3 separate regions of the Homo sapiens genome follow, and all the other regions are linked to region 1. The links are contacts of gene promoters, found by promoter capture Hi-C in human tissues and cell types (Jung and others, 2019). All regions are on one chromosome and are shown on one strand. Each heading gives the region's core, a stretch centred on a gene start or on the middle of the fragment in contact. The rest is flanking DNA. Distances are from core to core; before and after follow the strand shown.

Evidence for each region. Contacts are between HindIII fragments. The study calls those that stand out against the background at their distance.
Region 2: a fragment that was not itself captured here is called in contact with the fragment with the promoter of COL5A2 in region 1 in 5 of the 25 tissues and cell types used here (H1 embryonic stem cells, aorta, pancreas and 2 more).
Region 3: a fragment that was not itself captured here is called in contact with the fragment with the promoter of COL5A2 in region 1 in 1 of the 25 tissues and cell types used here (IMR-90 fibroblasts).

What each region holds. Positions count from the first base shown.
Region 1 is chr2:189,178,507-189,181,018 of GRCh38, forward strand. COL5A2 (collagen type V alpha 2 chain) reads right to left here and starts at 1,255. Exons shown (of 54, transcript NM_000393.5): 1 at 1,002-1,255. The coding sequence starts at 1,098. The HindIII fragment of the contact is 11,142 bases long and covers 1-2,512 here.
Region 2 is chr2:189,319,127-189,321,638 of GRCh38, forward strand. It overlaps a transcript of COL5A2 not described here. Among named protein-coding and RNA genes, the nearest start is that of WDR75, 120 kb to the right of the region's middle. The HindIII fragment of the contact is 3,265 bases long and covers 1-2,512 here.
Region 3 is chr2:189,033,631-189,036,142 of GRCh38, forward strand. It overlaps COL5A2 (collagen type V alpha 2 chain), which reads right to left. Exons shown (of 54, transcript NM_000393.5): 53 at 1,286-1,525; 54 at 1-586. The coding sequence ends at 440. Among named protein-coding and RNA genes, the nearest start is that of MIR3606, 39 kb to the left of the region's middle. The HindIII fragment of the contact is 3,993 bases long and covers 1-2,512 here.

The DNA.
Region 1 (2,512 bases), core at 5-2,504:
CAGTGGCTTATTTTAAAGGAGTACATGTCTGTATTTGAAATTGCAACCCTCAAGATTAAAGATTTAATAGAGGAATCAATTTAAATATTTTCTTATATACTACAACAGCTATGCATTTTTGCTTAACCATACCATATAACCCAACTGTAACATATGAAAATTGCATAGGAAAAAAATGTGGTCACCAGGCAAGATTTATCTTTAAAAAAAAAAAAAAAAAAAAGCTTGGGTCTAAGGGGTAATGTCCATGCAAATATTCCATGCCAAATAAGATATATACAAGACATGCTGATTTCCTGCCTTCCGCCATCCAACCGGGAACCACCACTGTCCTGTTAATCAAGCCAGTAGGGTGGGAAAATACCACTGTTTAAGAAATCTGGCTTCTATCAGCCTCTGTCATGGAGAAACAAACGAGACTGCCTCCCAGTAAGCAAAAGTGATCACATTTTCACAAATGAAAATGGTAAAAAGAAGTTTAAATTGTTAAAGAGGAAAGAATGAGGAGCCAAAGACAAAGAAAAATCAAAGCTATCAGAGTTGCTGCAGAGGTTTTACTAAACAAAGAATTTTATGAAGCAGCTGAAGTTCAGTACAAAAAGACTCCACCCTACCCAGCTTCTGCCGCGACTTTTCCTTGCTCTGAAAACTCCAGCCCACAGAACAGAGCTCCTCTAACTAAAATGCCTTTAGTGCTCCGTTTTAAGCATTCACTCTTTTCTTATTTTAAACGTCCCACTCTCACACTCAGCCAAAAGGACTTATTGTAGGCTTTCCCAGAAAAATTTAGTAGTGTACTCTCTCCAACGGTGGATCTAGAAGCTCCGGATTTACAAACATCCCAATTGTCTTTCAAGTCGTTTTCCAGGTGCAAATCCGTCAGCCCCCTTCTCAAACTTCAAACCAGAACCTCCTCTTCACGCTCTTCCTGAGGCTTAACATTCCACCTATTTCCCAAACCGTGCAATAAACACTACAAGCAAAGCAAATGGCAAACTCACCATCCTCGTCTTCTTCCTGGGCTTTTATTGAGACAAATTGCCCTAATAAAACAATAAGAATGAGGAGAGGTCTTGCTTCCGCCCAGTTTGCCATCATGTCTAAATATTAGACATGTGGGTTCTCCTGAGAGTGAAAAGTAGATTCTGAGGTTATTGTAGCACCATGAAGTCAGCTGTGGGCTCTTCTTTCAGCACCAGCCCCAGGGCAGCCTCTGCAAACCCCCTTTTTCAGCACCAGCTCCAGCACAGTCTGCGAAAACTTTTTTCAAGCGATGCAGCTTTAAATAGGAAGAATGCTGCCTCCACTTCTTTTCCTGCCCCTTTTCAGCTTGTTCAGGCTCATAACCATCCAGTGTCTGCCAAGCAACGGTCTGATTGATGGTAAACAACCAAATCAGAACACGCGTCTCTGTGCCTGAACTTTCCCTATTTCATTTAACTTTTAAGCATAGATGGGGCTTAATAACAGAAACAAACATTTGTTTCTCTTTTCTTTTATTTTTTAAGAAAGGCTGTTAGAAGAAAAGGGTTCTATTTTCCCCTCCCTAACCCTTCCCCCCAGACACACACCCTTTAACTTTTCCCCTATAAGCTGAAAAAGACATTCCGAAGGAAATCCAGCCTTTTACCCTAGTTTTTTTACATTTAGATAATTCAAGACTCTCTTCTCCACCTTAAATCTTTAAACAATCACATTTTAACCCTTTCTTTTGACTGAATAGGGAGTATTCTTATCCCCTTCTCAGATTCGGTTTCTTTTCCCATACTCTGGAAGGAGATTATTAGAATGTTGCCCAGGTAAAGTCCAGGTTAGAAAACCATTTTGGATAAATGAATTTGTGATACATTGTAATTTGAATTAAGAAAGCATGTCCTTTCCTAATTTCTCCACATCTCTTGTTAAGGGGCCACATCTTCAGGTTCCTCTTGTCCCAGAGAGTTTTACCATGTTGAAAAATAGTCTACTAAGCAGTGCAGAGGAATGGGAAGTACTCTACCTTTGGATGAAAAAAGGCTTGCTTCTGCCTTTTGTGAGTGGTTCTGCCACTCAATAATTTTGTAAATGTGCATATAGTCCTTTATCTCTGTGCACTCCAATTTTCTCATTTGAGAAAAGGGCTTTACCCTGACCAGTGTACAGGGTTTAGTGACACTAAAATGAGTAATGTATTATTAATGAAGCTCCAAATTGCAAAGAGCTACATAAAAGCAGATGGTGGTATTATTAGCTTTAAGCCAGCTTTGCAGGGAATATGATAGCCCCAGTTGAACATGCATTTTAAGGAAAATTATCGATGAACTTTTGTGCCACCCTCACACTTGCCAAGATCTTAATGACCTCAGAGAGTTCTATACAATCTAATGTATTTGCCACCTTGAGTCTCCCTAGAATCAGGATGGATGTTCTATACAATACAAGTGAGTCAATTGTTTATAATTATTGGGCAACAGGTGCCTTGCACTGTGCTAAGCACTGGGCAGAAAGGATGACATAAAAGAAATAAAAGACA
Region 2 (2,512 bases), core at 7-2,506, 140 kb after region 1:
GAAATTAAATGAAATTTTGAATAAATTGTTAAAATAAAACATGACATGTTAAAGAAAGAGACTGCAAGATGGCCGAATAGGAACAGCTCCAGTCTACAGCTCCCAGCGTGAGCGGCGCAGAAGATGGGTGATTTCTGCATTTCCAACTTAGGTACTGGGTTCATCTCACTGGGGCTTGTCAGACAGTAGGTGCAGGACACTGGATGCAGCGCACCAAGCGTGAGCCGAAGCAGGGCGAGGCATCGCCTAATCCGGGAAGTGCAAGGGGTCAGATAATTCCCTTTCATAGCCAAGCAAAGCTGTGACAGACTGCACCTGGAAAATCAGGTCACTCCCACACTAATACTGCGCTTTTCCAATGGTCTTAGCAAACAGCACACCAGGAGATTATATCCCGTGCCTGGCTCGGAGGGTCCCACGCCCACGGAGCCTTGCTCATTGCTAGCATAGCAGTCTGAGATCAAACTGCAAGGCAGCAGCCAGGCTCGGGGAGGGGCGCCCGCCATTGCTGAGGCTTGAGTAGGTAAACAAAGCGACCAGGAAGCTTGAACTGGGTGGAGCCCACTGCAGCTCAAGGAGGCTGGCCTGCTCTGTAGACTCCACCTCTGGGAGCAGGGCGTAGCCGAACAAAAGGCAGCAGAAACCTCTGCAGACTTAAATGTCCCTGTCTGACAGCCTTGAAGAGAGTAGTGGTTCTTCCAGCACAGAGTTTGAGATCTGAGAATGGACAGACTGCATCCTCAAGTGGGTCCCTGACCCCCAGGTAGCCTATCTGGGAGGCACCCCCCCAGTAGGGGCAGACTGACATCTCACATGGCCGGGTACCCCTCTGAGACAAAACCTCCAGAGGAATGATCAGACAGCAACATTTGCTGTTCAGCAATATTCACTGTTCTGCAGCCTCCACTGCTGATATCCAGGCAAACAGGGTCTGGAGTAGAACTCCCGCAAATTCCAACAGACCTGCAGCTGAGGATTCCGACTATTAAAAGGAAAACTAACAAACAGAAAGGACATCCACACCAAAAACCCATCTGTACGTCACCATCATCAAAGACCAAAGGTAGATAAAAAACACAAAGATGGGGATAAAACAGAGCAGAAAAACTGAAAATTCTAAAAATCAGAGCGCCTCTCCTCCTCCAAAGGAATGCAGCTCCTCACCAGCAACAGAACAAAGCTGGACAGAGAATGACTTTGATGAGTTGAGAGAAGAAGGCTTCAGACGATCAAACGTCTCCGAGCTAAAGGGGGAAGTTTGAACCCATTGCAAAGAAGTTAAAAACCTTGAAAAAAGATTACACGAATGGCTAACTAGAATAACCAATGCAGAGAAGTCCTTAAAGGACCTGATGGGGCTGAAAACCATGGCACGAGAACTACGTGACAAATGCACAAGCTTCAGTAGCCGACTCGATCAACTGGAAGAAAGAGTATCAGTGATTGAAGATCAAATGAATGAAATAAAGTGAGAAAAGAAGTTTAGAGAAAAAAGAATAAGAAGAAATCAACAAAGCCTCCAAGAAATATGGGACTATGTGAAAAGACCAAATCTACGTCTGATTGGTGTACCTGAAAGTGATGGGGAGAATGGAACCAAGTTGGAAAACATTCTTCAGGTTATTATCCAGGAGAACTTCCCCAACCTAGCAAGGAAGGCCAACATTCAAATTCAAGAAATACAGAGAACGCCACAAAGATACTCCTCGAGAAGAGCAACTCCAAGACACATAATTGTCAGATTCACCAAAGTTGAAATGAAGGAAAAAATGTTAAGGGCAGCCAGAGAGAAAGGTCGGGTTACCCACACAGGGAAGCCTATCAGACTAACAGTGGATCTCTGGGCAGAAACTCTACAAGCCAGAAGAGAGTGGGGGCCAATATTCAACATTCTTAAAGAAAAGAATTTTCAACCCAGAATTTCATATCCAGCCAAACTAAGCTTCATAAGTGAAGGAGAAATAAAATCCTTTATAGACAAGCAAATGCTGAGAGATTTTATCACCACCAGGCCTGCCCTACAACAGCTCCTGAAGGAAGCACTAAACATGGAGAGGAACAACCAGTACCAGCCACTGCAAAAACATGCCAAATTGTAAAGACCATCGATGCTAGGAGGAAACTGCATCAACTAACGAGTAAAATAACCAGCTAACATAATGATGACAGGATCAAATTCACACATAACAATATTAACTGTAAATGTAAATGGGCTAAATGTTCCAATTAAAAGACACAGACTGGAAAATTGGATAAAGAGTCAAGACCCATCAGTGTGCTGTATTCAGGAAACCCATCTCACGTGCAGAGACACACATAGGCTCAAAATAAAGGGATGGAGGAAGATCTACAAGCAAATGGAAAACAAAAAATGGCAGGGGTTGCAATCCTAGTCTCTGATAAAACAAATTTTAAGCCAACAAAGATCAAAAGAGACAAAGAAGGCCATTACATAAAGGTAAAGGGATCAATTCAACAAGAAGAGCTAACTATCCTAAATATATATGCACCC
Region 3 (2,512 bases), core at 5-2,504, 140 kb before region 1:
CTATTTTTCAACTGCAGCCAAGCAAAATAAACATGTGTTGTGGCTCTATATACCCCACTCTTTAAGCTACCTGCCAGGAAGAAGAATTTCCTCATAAATACTAAGCAACTTTTTCATTACACTGAAATAAATTGAAGAAAACGGAGATTTATTTATTCAATCAGTTTACTTTCTGCAAAGGTGGTCATTGTCATTGGTCATCTTAAACCTAAACTGTTGTATTGAAAAATATTTAAAATCAATTAAAACTTGAGGATTGTAAGTAAAATAAATATTCTGAAGGATAAGGAGGCCAGGCACTTAAGACCATATATACAATGCTGATGCAGGATCAGCCATTACTTCAAGAGTCTCAGGATCAACTTCAAACAGTCAAAGTTCTTGTGAATGGCGGTGGTCATTGATGGTGGTGCTCATTGTCGATGTGTCTTGGCTTACTTTACACAAAACAAACTGGCCCAATTTCAACGCCGAATTCCTGGTCTGTGCCGCCAACATCCACAGGAGCAAGATCTATGATGGGCAAGCGTGCCACATTCTGTGTTCTATATTCAAAGACAGTCTTGCCCACATTTCCATTCCGCTTCTGAAATTAAATGATGCAATGGGTTAAATGTACATACAATTTTTTCCAAGTATGTTAGACAGCAACCTTCCCAGACACTTTTATAATGTAAAGGCAATGATTTTTAGAGTACTACTTAAAAAAAAGGAATGAAAACATAAAGTGAAATATTAGTGTACTTATGTAACAGAATTTCTTTCATGCTTTAAGTAAATTTCCTTTGTTCTTCTGCAGCTTCCCAAATGGTCACTAGCAACATAAATTATGAAAGCTTTTTTGTTTTTCACAAATGAAACTATAATTCACCATTTAGTATTATTTTCGTTTTATATCTCAATATGCAAGCGGGGAGACTTACTTACAAATTGGTGGAAAAAATAAAGTATCTTGGATTAATTACGCATTTTAGAAATAAGGAATTTTAAGCATGGGACTGAGATTCAGTAAGTTAAATAACTTGGAAAAGAACCAAAGAAAGTCTGCAGAAGAACTGGATCAGATCTTAGGGATCCAGTTCTTTCTTTACTATATGGATTCAAACCTCTATCATGCTTCATGTGCTAACACACACACATTTACCCTAAGGAATGACTATAAACAAACTGCTATTATGCTCATATACAAGGTAAAATTGCCCCCAGTTCTAGTGCTGTAATAGTATTTTTAACAAAAATAATTTTTTTTCCTCAACCAGATCAATGTAGATCAAAAAGTACTTACAGAGCAAGTGTCTTGAAGAACGATATACCGGAATCTAATATTTCCCTCTGCTTTGATATCTAAGTCATTTGCCCCTTTGAGAACCACAGCTTTTTTGAGGTTCTTAGCTTGATCGTCCATGTATCCTACACTGTTTTTACAGATGTAAGTGATGTTCTGGGAGGCTTCTTTTGATAAAAGGCGCAAAAAAGTCATCTGAGTAATGGCTGTATTAGGTGATTGGTGGTCTCCATAAGCGAACTAGAAAAACAAAGAGTCTTTGTCATACACAAGACTGAAGGGTTTCATAATGCCTTACACATGTATAGATAAATATATAAATTGATTTCAGATAAATCAATTTTGAAGAGTATTACTTTAATTCTTGTCATAAAGTAAGCTATTCTAGCTGTACATCTAAACATATCTTAAAATGTCTATGAATACTCAAAAGAACCTCTGTCCTTATTAACCCAAAGGGTAATGAAACCAATAATAACAATAATTCACGAGAACAAGCATAAGTATTTTTAAATCTGCTTCACTCATGTATCAAAAATAACTCATTTTTATTGCTAATTATAATAAAAATTAGAATTAACTAGTAGTATAAAATCTTTTGACCCCAACTATTACACAATTGTAGGAAATACATATTAAAAGTTTTCCATGTGCTAACAAAAATAATCAAAAAAATTTTTCTAGAGACTCTTTCCTACTCACCTTCTACTTTAGCTTTGGTTTCAGCACTCCCATTTGGGGGTTTTATTTTACATATTATATTAGCTAAATTATATTTCAACTATTTATATTTAAAATTTAAAATTTTGTGCTCATTAAATAATGACAGATACTAGCTTATCTTGTATACACCCATAATGTTCTCATAATGTTTATTCTGAACGTGATTTCTAGGAAAAGGTCAGAAGCAGAAGTGAGAAGAAAATTTCAATTAGGCTGCCATAAAGAGATGCAGAATGAAATATTCACATTGCAACAGGCAGTGGAAAGGCCAGACAGTTGTCTGAACACCAGACCATGATAGAAACAGGGTAGACTGGGACTCAGAAAAATATCAATTGACTTCATAACATTACAAAAATGCCTTAAGTTTAAATAATATTAAAAATTTTACAAAATGATTCAATTATTTAGACATTATTATAGTAGTTATCTAATATTAATTTACCATCTATCCCATAGTACAAGAGACCCTAAACTAAGAATTTTATATCCACATGGAAACTA